2 separate regions of the Homo sapiens genome follow, and region 2 is linked to region 1. Evidence: promoter capture Hi-C in 16 types of primary human blood cells and fetal thymus (Javierre and others, 2016). All regions are on one chromosome and are shown on one strand. Each heading gives the region's core, a stretch centred on a gene start or on the middle of the fragment in contact. The rest is flanking DNA. Distances are from core to core; before and after follow the strand shown.

The links. Contacts are between HindIII fragments. The CHiCAGO score rates a contact against its expected background, and 5 or more counts as called.
Region 2: a contact is called between a fragment that was not itself captured here and the fragment with the promoter of IGSF6 in region 1, in 14 of 17 cell types (M1 macrophages, total CD8 T cells, naive CD4 T cells and 11 more). The highest score is 11.3, in M1 macrophages.

Annotation. Positions count from the first base shown.
Region 1 is chr16:21,651,209-21,657,799 of GRCh38, forward strand. IGSF6 (immunoglobulin superfamily member 6) reads right to left here and starts at 1,400. Exons shown (of 6, transcript NM_005849.4): 1 at 1,324-1,400. The coding sequence starts at 1,390. METTL9 (methyltransferase 9, His-X-His N1(pi)-histidine) reads left to right here. Exons shown (of 5, transcript NM_016025.5): 5 at 4,019-6,263. The coding sequence ends at 4,224. The HindIII fragment of the contact is 3,735 bases long and covers 396-4,130 here.
Region 2 is chr16:22,186,520-22,193,118 of GRCh38, forward strand. It overlaps SDR42E2 (short chain dehydrogenase/reductase family 42E, member 2), which reads left to right. Exons shown (of 13, transcript NM_001394319.2): 12 at 202-275; 13 at 3,620-5,232. The coding sequence ends at 3,874. It overlaps LOC124903666 (a long non-coding RNA gene), which reads right to left and starts at 1,493. Exons shown (of 2, transcript XR_007065028.1): 1 at 1,452-1,493. RefSeq lists silencers at 3,618-3,707, 3,798-3,847, 3,988-4,087 and enhancers at 3,793-4,292, 4,548-4,627, 5,128-5,187. The HindIII fragment of the contact is 461 bases long and covers 2,058-2,518 here.

The sequences.
Region 1 (6,591 bases), core at 150-2,649:
CGAGACTCCGTCTCAAACAAACAAAAAAGCCATATTGAAAGTAGGAAGAGAACTAATTCTTGACATTTAAACAAAGCTGTCTCTCTATCTAGTAAGTAAGAAGTAAGTAAATGTCTTGCTCTGTTGCCCAGGCTGGAGTGCAGTGGCACAATCACAGCTCCCTATAGCCTGAAAGTCCTGGGCTCAAGTGATCCTCCTGCCTCAGCCTCCCAGGTGGGTGGGACTGCAGGTGCAGTGCAGGTGCCATCACGCCCAGCTATTTTTTTTTCTTGTGTAGAAATGGGGGTCTCATTATGTTGTTCATGCTGGTCTTGAACTCCTGAGCTCAAGTGATCCTCTCACCTTGGCCCCCAAAGTGCTGGGATTACAGGCATGAACCACCACGCCCAGCCCAAAGCTTTATTATATTAGATTTCAAATTTCTAACATATCAAAGTAGCGAAGTAGTACAGTCAACCCCCTGCCATCACATGGCTTCGACCCAATCTTGTTTCTTTTCTCCTCCCACCTACTCCCTCACTCCCATATTATTTTAGAGCAAATCCCAGCCATTTTATCTGCATCTTTCAGAATATATCTCTAAAAGACAGGAATTCTTCTTTAAAATAATGCTAATTAAAATAGTCTATGAAAGTAATATATACTTATTAGCAAAAAACAGGTTATTAAAAGTAGAAGCAAAAAGTCACCCATAGTCCTTTTGCCTGAAATAACTCCCATTAACATTTTGATATATTTCTTCACAGATGAGAAAAAATTAAGAACTTTCCCCCCTTCCCTGCCCTATAATCCAAATTGTGTGGGCAAATCTGAGATTACTAGATGTATTGGAAATCCTTTCTCTTTCATAGATAAAAAAACAGAAGTAGACAGAATTTTAAAAATAGATATACTATGGGATGGCTATTGGAGTCATGGCAGTTTTTTTTTTCTTAAATGAAAAGTACTTTTATAGAAATTGTTCTTTGAAAATATTCAGCAAATAATCATTTATTGCTTTCTATGTGCAGATCAAGTTTGTATGATAATTAAATTATTGATAACTTATACCTACGATTTTAAGAATATTTTCAACCCTTTGGTCAGATTGTCTCCAATTAGCATAATAGCAAAGAGACTTTTCAAGGTTAATATGAAACTTTTTCTCAGCTATTTTTTTATTGTCTATTTCTCAGGGGAAAAAGGAAACTTATCCTCTTAGGCAGTTTTCATAATGTTATACATTTAAAAATTAATCTGAAGGAGCTTAAAATATAAATGCATTAGGTGAAAAATAGCAGTTGATTTAAATAAAATGAAGGAGGAGAAGAAAAAGAACCTTACCGACACAAAATAGAATGAGATTGGTTTGCAGATGGCGAGCGATGTTGCTTCTGCTCGCAGTCCCCATTTCTGTGTATGCCGGGGCGGGTTGGGGTGTGTATTTGAAAGGAAAGTTGGCTTTCTTTTTTCAGAAGGGAAGAAGAGCTGAAGAGAGGAACCTCTTATGAAGGAACCATAATCAGGAACTTTTTGAAATTGTGCAAGGATGGCTTCACCATTTAACATTGAGATTTTGGCCTGGAGCACATTTAGAAATGTGCATATCTTTTTTTTTTCCATGGATTTTACAGTTGTCATAGGTGTTAGATGTTTCTGGGTGAGATTTTGATTTACACCTAGCACATATTTCCAGGAAGGAGTATTGTTTGACAAATAATTCGTACTTGGATTTTTCAGAACAGTTCAGTCACTGTCTAGGGTACCTGCTCTGGGTGCCACTCTGGGCCAGTAACTGCTGGGAACAAAGAACAGCAGAAGGAGAAGTGGCTTTGTGTAGAGATGAGAAAAGTTAGTAAACAACACATTCTAATGCAGCGAATAAATAAATTGTCTGTTATTAACTTTTTGTACTCCAGTTTTGAATCCAAAGACACCTGCCTTCCCCCCTTTTTTGACAGGGTCTCTATCACCCAGGCTGGAATGCAGTGGCAAGATTGCAGGTCATTGCAGCCTCAGCTTCCTGAGTAGCTGGGACTACAGGCATGCACCACCACCCCTGGCTAATTTTTTTTTTTTTTTGTAGATTCTGTGTTGTCTAGGCTAGTCCTGCCCTCAAGCGATCCCCCTGCCTTGGCCTCCCAAAGTGTTAGGATTACAGGTGTGAGCCACCATGCCTGGCCCAAAGACCCCCTTTTAATGTGTTGAGAAACAAATATGTGGGCCCTCTGTCCTCTGTGTCCTCTCCCCCAGCACTTAGTGGTGATTCAGTAAGGGTCTTCTTTGTAAAGCAGCAGAAACAGACTCAGGCTGACTTAAAAGGAAATTTATGCAAACATTTGAAGGTAGATCCTAGAGTCACTGGGAGGGCTAGTGAATCTTGTGTGGGGTCCACAGCCAGGAAGAATGCCTCAAATCACACCATAAACAGGTCTGAAGAGGATGCTACTGCCACTGCCAAACACTAGGTGCCATCAGCCCTGTTGTCAGCATCGCTCAACCACTGCCCCAGCCCCTTGGTCTCACTGCCATTGCTCCACCCCCAGAGAAGGAGAAGCTCACATCCCCACTACTCTGGGTCACTGGCTCTCCATTCCAGGGCATGGGCAAGTGTGCCTGGCTTAGGCTGCGTGCCAGTGCCTCAGCTGCACGGCAGGCCAGGAAAGCGGCTCCCAGGCCTTGTGTCTCTCCCAGACTCTGGGCAGGCAATTCCCCAGACATGGGAAGAGCGTCATCTGCACCACTGAAAATTATGAAAAATCTCCCCACCATGATATGATGTCTGTGCCCTTGGCATCTGCTCATGATATATTTTCTCATTAACAGAAAGTTATTCTCAGTCTGTTTTGTTTTTTTTTTTTTTTTTTTTTTTGAGACAGAGTCTCGCTCTGTCGCCCAGGCTGGAGTGCAGTGGCACGATCTTGGCTCGCTGCAAGCTCCGCCTCCCGGGTTCACACCATTCTCCTGCCTCAGCCTCCCAAGTAGCTGGGACTACAGGTGCATGTTGCCATGCCCAGCTAATTTTTTTGTATTTTTTTTAGTAGAGACGGGGTTTCACTGTGTTAGTCAGGATGGTCTTGATCTCCTGACCTCGTGATCCGCCCACCTCGGCCTCCCAAAGTGCTGGGATTACAGGCATGTGCCACCACGCCCGGCCTCAATCTGGTTTTAACACTTCAACAGATGTATGTAGTTTTTGTATCACCATAGCACCTAAAAAGTACCCCCAAAGTTAAATATACTGTCATCTCTGTGTGTGTGTCTGTAGTCAGTGCCAGGTTTGTATGTGAATTTGAGGACCTTCCCTAGTCCCCTTGTCCCCCAGGCATCTCCTGCTCATAGGTTTGGAAATGACTGATAGAGGCTTCATCTCTAGTCCAAGAAATGCTGGACGGTGTATCCATCCTACTGTTCCATCTCTCTCTGGTCCTGGAGCTTAATGTTTATGAAATTGTTCTGAAAAGGCAAAGAATGAGTCAACTTCCCTAGAAAAACTCCCCAATGATCTGCTTTTCTAAATTAAAATCCTTCATGAGCCTGTTTTTATTTTCAGCCTAATAAATCTCTCTAGGTAGTAAGTTGCATAAGTTTACTATGCCAGTGGTATTTTCTTGCATTTGTCCAAAACTGTCCTTCAGATATTACATGTTGCTCTCTGTTTCAGTATTCCAGCATTTAATGACCAGTTTTCCAAACCCATTAACCATTACACCCTGCAGTCAGTCTATTGGCAGATACTACCCAAAACTGTCAGAGAAGATAACAGTGTGGGGCCTTGGATCCAGACAAACCTGGGCTTACATTTCCATACTGACACTCATTAACCTTGCAAGCGTGGGCAAGTTCTTCACCCCTTCTGAGTCTGTTCTTTATCTGCCCACCTGTCTCAAAGAGTACCTGGGAAGTACAAAAGAGGTAACTCATGAAGCCCTCAGGCTTGGAACGTACCAAGTCCTTGGTAGATATGGCTCCTCCCTGCTTCCCTCTTTAAATCACTTGTTTGTTCAAGAATTTAACTGAATGTTCTTATTTGTATTAGTAGGTGGCAAGTGGGAGAAACCATCAGAAATTTTGGAAATCAAAGGACAGAACTGGGAAGAACAAGTGAATAGTCTGCCTGAAGTTTTCAGAAAAGCTGGTTTTGTTATCGAAGCTTTCACCAGACTACCATACCTGTGTGAAGGCGACATGTATAATGACTACTACGTTCTGGATGACGCTGTCTTTGTTCTCAAACCAGTATAAACACGTGGAGGTCGAAGTCTTCAGAGTCCGCACCCTCCGGGATGTGCCCTTGGAAGAGGGTCTGTGTTCACAATTACGTGAAGGGAGGACCCTTGGGGACCGCCATTCTAAATATCATGTAGGAATTTAAAAAGCCAAAATACTAATTATTTCTTTGTAGTGTGTAAAGGAATGTTTTTAAAAGACAAAAACCCAACTCTTTGTGGATTTTTATCAACTCTTTACTCAGAGCCACTCTCCAATGCAGGTCACACTCCAATTATGATGGAAGATATTTTTTATACTTAATTGCAGTAGGGACTCATTCCCAGACAAAGCAATAGTCACGACTTCATGGAACCAATCAATGGATTGTTTTTTGAAGACTGGCAATAAAGCTGTCCATTCAATTCCAAATACTGGTTTTAAGGTATAGCCACTGATATTCTTTCATGTTTAGAAATTCTTTCTGTTATTATTCAAGAAAATGTTTTTAATCATGCTAATAAACTTTTTTGGAGATGACTTTGGCATCATGTTTGAATTCATATAAAGCTCCCCTAGCATTTTTTATTGGTTTGGCTTCAGGAGTACCCAAATAGTAGCATTATGAGAATGACGCAGACAATTTGAATAGGGGGGAAGGAAGGCTTCAGACTTGGGGGAAGGGGAGATTATTGCAAATTGCAGTGAACACTGAGTCAGTAAAAAAAAAAAACAGAAACAAAAACCCAGCCTCATTCAGATACAGAACTTCAGGGACCCCTCCCCCCACCCCCCCAGTTAATGCTGCTGTGAAAAATGCAAAATAACCTGGTTCTGACTTTGTGATCACTCATGTCCCATACACTGAACTTTGTTTTTTTCTGGACAATCTCAGGTTCTCAGAATTGAAACATTCAGTTTTGTCTACTGACAAAATGCAACTAAAAATGTTTTAATTCAACTTCTTACTCTACACTTATATACCTCTCTCCCAGAGCTTGGCTCTTCCCTGAAATCCTTAAAGGAGTTTATTATTTGCCAAGAATATGGTTTGATGAAGACCGTGTCAGACTCATGCATTCTGGAATCCGTGAGTGCCTCCAACCATAAACCCAGAAATGCTGCCATAGAGGAACCCATTAGCAAGATCAATAACCATCGTGGATATTCCAAAGAGCAGAGCATTTAACCCAGAATCTGAAATCTCAGTAATAACAGAAATGTCAATATGAGATTGTGGTTATTAACAATATGTTATCCTCACTACTTTATTTCTTTTTTCATCCAGGTGTTTCATTAAGTATTCTCATTTATATGCTCATAGAAGTCATCAGATCAACACATTCACTCCAACACCTGGGTATAAAGGCGAATTAAAACCTGAAGAATTACTTTATTATTCATTAAGAACTGCATTCCCACATCCTCACACCAATATCTTCCACTGTTACTGTGCAGTCATAATAAGAGTTGGGTTATGTGATTTATGCAAAATTGTTATTGGTGTGTTCTAATGATTTTTTTCCAGGAATTCAAGTAAGTGAAGTACAAATACTTAGCACCATAGATTGTAAAAATAGAAAGAGGAAATGAGAAAACTTAATGTCGTTCTTGTACAGTTGAGTTTTGCTTCTTTATAAACTGTCTGTTAAAATCAGGGGTTGCTGTTAGACTGTCAAGCAGAAGTGATGGATGTTCAAGGAGGCAGGTTGCCCCAAAGTGTTTTCTAACTTTCAAGTAGAGAACTTTATGCTCTAATAAGAAAAATACAACTCATTCTTAACCACCCCCCCAAAACAGAGAAAACACATACATTTATGCATTTTAAAGATAAAAAGTAGTTTCTCAAAAAAATCTGAAGTTCTCTGAAAACCAGCTTATTAAAAGTGCTGTTTTGTGGTGAAAATTGAAACCAAATCCACTCACATTTCCTATCGGGTCTTGAAATTCTTGGTGGTGTGTCACCATTCCACTAGATGGCAGTGTTGCTTACTGAGTGTCAATGGCTTTTTTCCCCGTAAATGGAATCATGTTTTTCTCCCCCAAAGTACAATAAAGCTGCCTTGTCTGCACCATTCCTCGTGTAAGTGCTTCATATCAAGTTAAGACTGTACTAGAGAAATTAAGAAGAGCTTTATTTGTGGTAAAAGCAAGCTAACCAATTGACCTTAAAGGTTGAAATGCAAGCCACACCTCTGATTCCTAGCTCCCTGCACCTGCATTTTAAGCTCCTAAAGTGCTCAGACCACTGATCTCAGAGAAGGGGAGGAAAGGAGGTACAGTGCCCTTAGTCATTTATCCCTTGTACAGAGTAGTTAAAAGCAGTACTGTATTTTCTGCCATCCAGTGTGACCTGTCATCAGTTTTTACATGGTTGGCTTTTAACAGAAAAAAGTTGAGTTG
Region 2 (6,599 bases), core at 1,038-3,537, 540 kb after region 1:
TTAAAAACAAGTTACTTGTGACATATTTCACAGCTAAACAAGGCACCCCAGCAAGGGCTGCTGATTTAAAGGAATCCAGTGACTTCTGCAAAGTGACCTCTAGCAAAGCAAATGGTGTCCCCCATTGATTTGTCCCCAAGGGCCTCCCTGGAGTTTGCATAATGTGAGGCCCCTGGTCACTGGCCCCCTCCTTCCCTGCAGCAGCAGTTATGGAGCGCCTCCATCTGGCCCTGAGACCCATCTGCAGCCTCCCACCGCTGCTCACTCGTAGTGAGGTAAGTGGGCTGCTGTTATGGGACCTAGGCCCTGCTCCCCATCCCTCCCTTCCTACCTCTCCCCACCATCCCCACTGCTGCCACTCCTTACCCCTTTGACACCATGATGACACATGCTTGTCTGAAGTCTCAGAACTTTCCATGTGGGCCCAAAGCTGGTGCTAGCTCTGTTATGATCACCCCAACCTCTGGGCTTTTGCTGAGGCTGTGCTTTCTGGGTCTGAAATGTGACAGCTCCAAGCCTATCCATCATCACTGTTTCTTCATTCATAAGCATCTTGTCTTTCCAGCCAGACTGGAGGTTCCCAAAGGCAAGTTTCAGGCCATTCACTTCTTTGAATGCTACCAATCCCACCAACTCTCAACACATACATACACACACACAACAGCCTGGTGGTCCTAGGCTCATAGTTCATGCTTACTGAATAATGAGTATATATTAAGTACCTACTACATACAGAATATAATTATTTTTATGAGACAGGGTCTCACTATATTGTCCAGGCTGGTTTCAAACTCCTGAGCTCAAGAGATCCTCTTGGCCAGGTGTGGTGGCTCGCACCTATAATCCCAGTGCTTTGGGAGGCTGAGACAGGAGGATCACTTGAGGCCAGGAGTTTGAGACCAGCCTGGGCAACATAGCAAGACCTCATCTCTACAAAAAATTTTAAAATTAGCCAGGCAAGGTGGTGCATGCCTTTAGTCCCAGCTCAGGTGGGGGATTACTTGAGCCCAGGAGTTCAAGGCTGCAGATTGCACCACTGTACTCCAGCCTAGGCAACAGATGGAGATCCTGCCCCTAAAAACCAAAAAAAAAAAAAAAGATTCTCCCCCCTCAGCCTTCTAAATAGCTGAGATTACAGGCATGCACCACCATGCCTGGCTCAGAATACTATTCTCATAATAATGATGATGCAGGTTTATATTTGCTTAGTTAAAAGAGAGGATGTTTTCATCACAGATTGTAAATAGCAAAGTAATCGGTGGTATTTGAGGTTATTTGCAAAAATCCTTCCAGTCCAGTCGGGCACGGTGGCTCACACTTGTTCCCAGCACTTTGGGAGGCTGAGGCGGGTGGATAACCTGAGGTCAGGAGTTTGAGACCAGCCTGGCCAACGCAGTGAAATCCTGTCTCTACTAAAAATACAAAAATTAGCTGGGTGTGGTGGCACATACCTGTAGTCCCAGCTACTCGGGATGCTGAGGCAGAAGAGTCGCTTGAACCTGGAAGGTGGAGGTTGCAGTGTGCTGAGACCACACCATTGTACTCCAGCCTGGGTGACAGCACAAGACTCCATCTAAAAAAAAAAAAAAAATTACTTCCAGTCCACTCTCGTTTTATTGTCTCTGATGCCCTGCTAAGTTAAAAAGGTCAAAAAAAAATCGTGATCTCCATTTTATGATGAAAAATTGAGCACTAGGAAAATTATTTGTCCAAGGCCACACCATACTGGAATTGGCTTCAGACTCCATGTTCAGTGCTCTTTAACAAGGGGAGTCAGAGGGGGAGAGTGGAGAATGGGCCACAGAAAGAAGTAGTCACCTATGGCTTCTCCTTTGAGCCATCCGGATCAGTGGAGGAGAGAATAAGATGATACTGACAATCTCTTGAGTTGTGACAGTATGCCAGGCACTGTGCTTTATCTCATTTAACTGAGTTGTAGACAACATTGTCCTCTCCATTTAGAGAGGAGGAAATGAGACACACAGTGAAATAACCTGCCCGTGATCACTCACTTAAATGGTAGAGCTGGGATTTGAACCCAGACCTCAGTGATTTCAAGCTTAACCATTAGCTTGTGAAAATGCATCAGGAATCACATCCACATAAAATAGCTGCCAGGGTGCAGCTGAATTGTGGTCAGGCAGGGACTTGGCTCCTCTCCCTCTTGTTTAACTTGGGGATTTCCTTGTTCAGCTCAGGGGCAATGTCCTTAACTGTGGAAGTTCCTTGGCTGTGGCTCGGGTACCCTCTGCTGGTCAATCTGTGACACATCAACCAGCCCTCCAGTTTGACTTTATAGCCTTTTATGCATTTAACATAAATGTTACCAGGCACTGTGCTGAGCAACGGAGGCAAGAAGACATAGTCCTTGCCCTTAGGGAGCTCCTAGTTCAAAGGGGAAGACAGCCCACTAACCAGGCAACTCAACACTGTAATTAGAGCCATTCTTGGGAAAATCGCGAGAAACTCCAGTGCACACAGAAGGGGCGCCTCAGCCAACTCTGAGGAAGTCAGAGAAAGCTTCCCAGAGGTGACATCTAGAGACATCTAGGTGTATTAGGGACCCTGCTTATCTAGCGTAACTCAACTCCTGTGCTCCCCAAAGCCCTGCACTTACTGACTAGGAAAAAAAGGGACAAATACTGGCCTCTCTCCTCACCCCCCATTAAGCATCCAAGACCACAGGTTTGACCCCAGGGGCTGTTTCAATGCCATGGGAGAATCCAGCAGCTGGTGGATTCTTCCCCAGGGTCCGGCTGAGGAAAAAGAGAGGAAGAAATGAGTCAGGTGGGAGAACATCTCCAGGTGCCAGCACAGCAGAGAAGAAATTAGGCTAGAACCTGGCTCCCCTGTGCGACCCCAGGCAAGTCACTCAACCTCTCTGACCTTTTTCCAAGTATGCACAGAACAGATAGTGCTAGTACCACCTGAGAGGATTAAATGAGGTAGGGCATAGAAAGGATTTAGTCCAGGCCAAATGCAGGGTGTGTGTTCCTTAACTGCTGATAGCTATCATTACTACCCTTCAAACCAGTGGGCCCCAAGCCATCTGGCAGCAGGGGAAACACAGCTTAGACCCTGGAGAGCAATCAGTTCTGCATAATCGAATTCCTCTCTTAGGGAAGCTTAGTTAATAAGCGAGGGCATGAAGGCTGCGACTGGGGCCCTCCTGGTCACAGTTGGTCTGGGGTTGGGGGCAGGAAGCCAAGGTCGTTTCCTGCAGATGTTTCTGGCAGGCGTTCACCTTCTCCTAGCGGATGCCTAAGAATGTATCAAGGGCCTCCTGAGTCCCAGCACCGTGCTAGGCCGGGAAGATGAGTGTAGGGGTGAGACCTTTGCTTCTTAGGGACCAAGGAGTTAAATAGGGTGCGAATTCAGCGGGGCTGGAGGGGGCGACGCAAAGGCGGCACCCTCCAATAAAAATGAACATGTAAGGAAGAAAGGAAGACCTCTCTAATGAGGGCATCGCAGGAGCAAGACGCTGCACTCGGGTCCTTTTAAATCACTATGTAATGGAGGGGAAATCCCTGCCCTCTCTTTTCCCTTTCCGTAAACAACGAAGTAGAGGATGTCCTCCTCCCACGAGGCCCGCCCTCGGATGCCCCGCCTGTCCCCGCAGGTGCGCAGCGTGGCCGTGACGCACACCTTCCAGATAGCCAAGGCCCGCGCCCAGCTCGGCTACGCGCCGGATAAGTTTAGGTTCGCCGACGCCGTGGAGCTATACGTGCAGTCCACGACCCGGCGGCCCCGCGGCTCCACGGCGCGGACCCTCCTGCGCCTGCTGCTCAGGCTGCTGCTGTTCCTCGGCTTGCTCGCCCTGGCCCTGCACTTCCTAGGCCTGCAGCCTCTGCACGCCGCCGTGGAGCGCCTGTGACCGTCCGCCGTCCGCCGCCCGCTAGGGTCGGCCCCGCTGCACCCTCGCCCACGCCCGGCTCCCTGGGCTTGTACCAGCCCCTGCCCCGCCTTCTGGGTTTGAGCGCGCCTCCGCTCCGCCCCTTGAATCCTGGTCACGCCCCCGAGCCGCTCTCCAGACCTAGCCCGGACCGCCGACTTCTGGCCACGCCCCTATCTACTCCCAGACCTTGCCTTGCGCCCTTCCTGTGTTTTGGCCCCGCCCCTGTCCTGTCCCGCCCCGCCCTCCGAAGTGGGCACGCTCCTGCTCCGCCCCCTGAATCCTGGCCACGTCCCTGGTCGGCCCAGACGCGTAGCCCCGAGTCTCTTTCCATGTTTTGACCACGCCCTTGACCCGCCCTTCAAATTGGGCACGCCTTCTTCCCCGCTCACTGATTTCCTGGCCTAGCCCCTGAGCAGACCTCCAGACCTAGCCCCGCCCCCGTTTTATAACCCCGCCCCTGCTTCACGGCTTGGGCACGCCTCTTCCCCGCCCCCTGACTTCAGAGCCTAGTCCTGAGCCGCTCTCCAGGCCTAACCCCGCCTTCATGTCATAGCCACGCCCCTTCCCGCCCTTCCATGTTTGGGCACGCCTTCTGAGTCCTGGTCACGCCTCTGTCCCGCCCCCTGAATCTTTCCTACGTCCATGACCCTCCCTCCAGGCCCTGGCCCTGCCCCTTTTTTCCTCCCTCCGGCCTGTCCGGTTTCTGATATGGGCCAAGGCTCACAGCTTCCTCCGCCTTCTGGACCTTCTCCTAGTCCCTGCCCAGTCCCGGCCCACCCCCAGATTCTCCCTCATTCTGGTTTCGCCCCCTTTCTGGTCCTCCCCGCGCGCTTGAGCCCACCCTTTGGCTTCTCCTTTTGGGTCTGTCCTTGCTCCTGCCTCTGGACCCGGTCCCGCCCTTCTCGCGTGTAATTGAGTCCTGGCCCCGCCCCCTCCCTCTCTGGCTTCACCCCTTTCCAGCTCCGCCTCCCGGGTAGGTTCTCCCCGGAACCAGGCTGCCGCGTCGCTATGGGCTAACGCAGGCTCGGGTGACGTTGGTATGAGTTTGCGCCGTCGGCTGCTGCTCTGTCTGGTAACATTGCATTCGATCCACCCCGACCCAATGTTCTGGGCTTCTCATTCACACAGATCTGTGTGTTGACAGCCAGGGTTTGGGGAAAAACCGAGACTCAAGCTTCTGCCGAGCCCGACTTGGCCTTTTTGGGTTCCTGTCTGAGGATGACAGCATAGTAAGCACAGGTTTTAGTACCAGAAAGAGCATGAAAAATTTAAAAAAAAAAACTCTTAAAATAATTGGATGTCTCGATGAAGTACCAATAAAGCTATAATGGGAAAAATAGAGTTTAGTTGGTTATATTTTATGATTTAGTACTGTTTCTATTTATTAATTAGAGGTAGTGGTAATCACCATAATCTTTAAAGTTTAAGGTCACGAAACTTCTTTATCTAGCCCTGCTCTCCACAGAAACTTCGCCTCCTATCATCTTGGTATCAGTTATCAGTTGTAAGTACCAAGACATCAGTGTGTAAATACAACCATGTATAGATCATAATATGCACACGTGGGACTGGCAGAGAAGAAAAGCACCACAAGCCTGAGGTGGATGGGATCGAAAGGGCTCATCAGAACCAACATGGCCACCGCAGTGTGTGTCCCACTCTGCTGAACAAGGTGAGCAGTTTGGGAAGGAGCTAAAAAAAAATGTATGCTCCTCTCTGCTAGGCTGAATTTTATGTGTGTATATAATTTTTGAAAGAATAATAATCCTATGTCTGTTTAATGCTTGACAGTGTAAAAGAGCTTTCATCTATGTGATCTTATTTAATTCTTACAGCTACTCTTAAATAGGGTTTATTACTCTCCTTTTATAGATGACGAAAACTGGGGCTTTGTCTCATTCCAAAGAGCAGAGGAGGGTGGGGGTTTCTGCTCTACAGCTGGGGGAATTTGGAGGAGCACCGCCTAAGCCGCCACTGGCCTAAACACAACACGTGGTAACTTCTACTCTTCTACACTCTGGCCATGCCAAGGCTTGCGGTTGAACTCTGGTCTCGTTCTCTCAGAGCCGCAAACCTCGGACCATTTGAAGCTGGCGGTCCTGGGGCTTCCTTTCCTCTCGATAACATGTTTACATCCAAACTCACTTCCTTCCTCTCTTTCTTCTCCCTGCTAATCCTGGGAAATCTGTTCTTCGAGCAGGAAAAACAATCTCACACTGCTCACGTTATTTTCTAGATCTTTTGACTAGTGCCAAACCTACTTTTGAAAATCCAAAAGCCAAGAATCAATTTATTTGTTTTCTGGATTTCTCCAACTCATCTATTTCCTAACACTCTGGAAGCAGAATGTGTAAACCCTGGGCATGGGGACAACATGGATCGCTATGTCAAAAAAGCTTTTTTCCTTTCAAGCATCTTTATCCAATGGAAAAGGAGGTGGCATCCCCACCCAACAGGAAAACTGAATCACTGTAAGAATTTTTGAGACTGCCCAGACCACTAGCCTCCATGAGGTTCTGAAAGGGCAAGTAGGAGGTTCTAGCTTACTTGGAGACGCTAAAGAGAAGCATCGCAAATGCAGAAAACAGAATTGTCACAGTGGGCAGCCCAAGGTGACATAGTCGATCTGAAGGGATTATCAAGACAAACTCATAGGCTTTCCATTATGGGTGCTGAAGCTATTCCCAGTTGTAAACCCAATGCC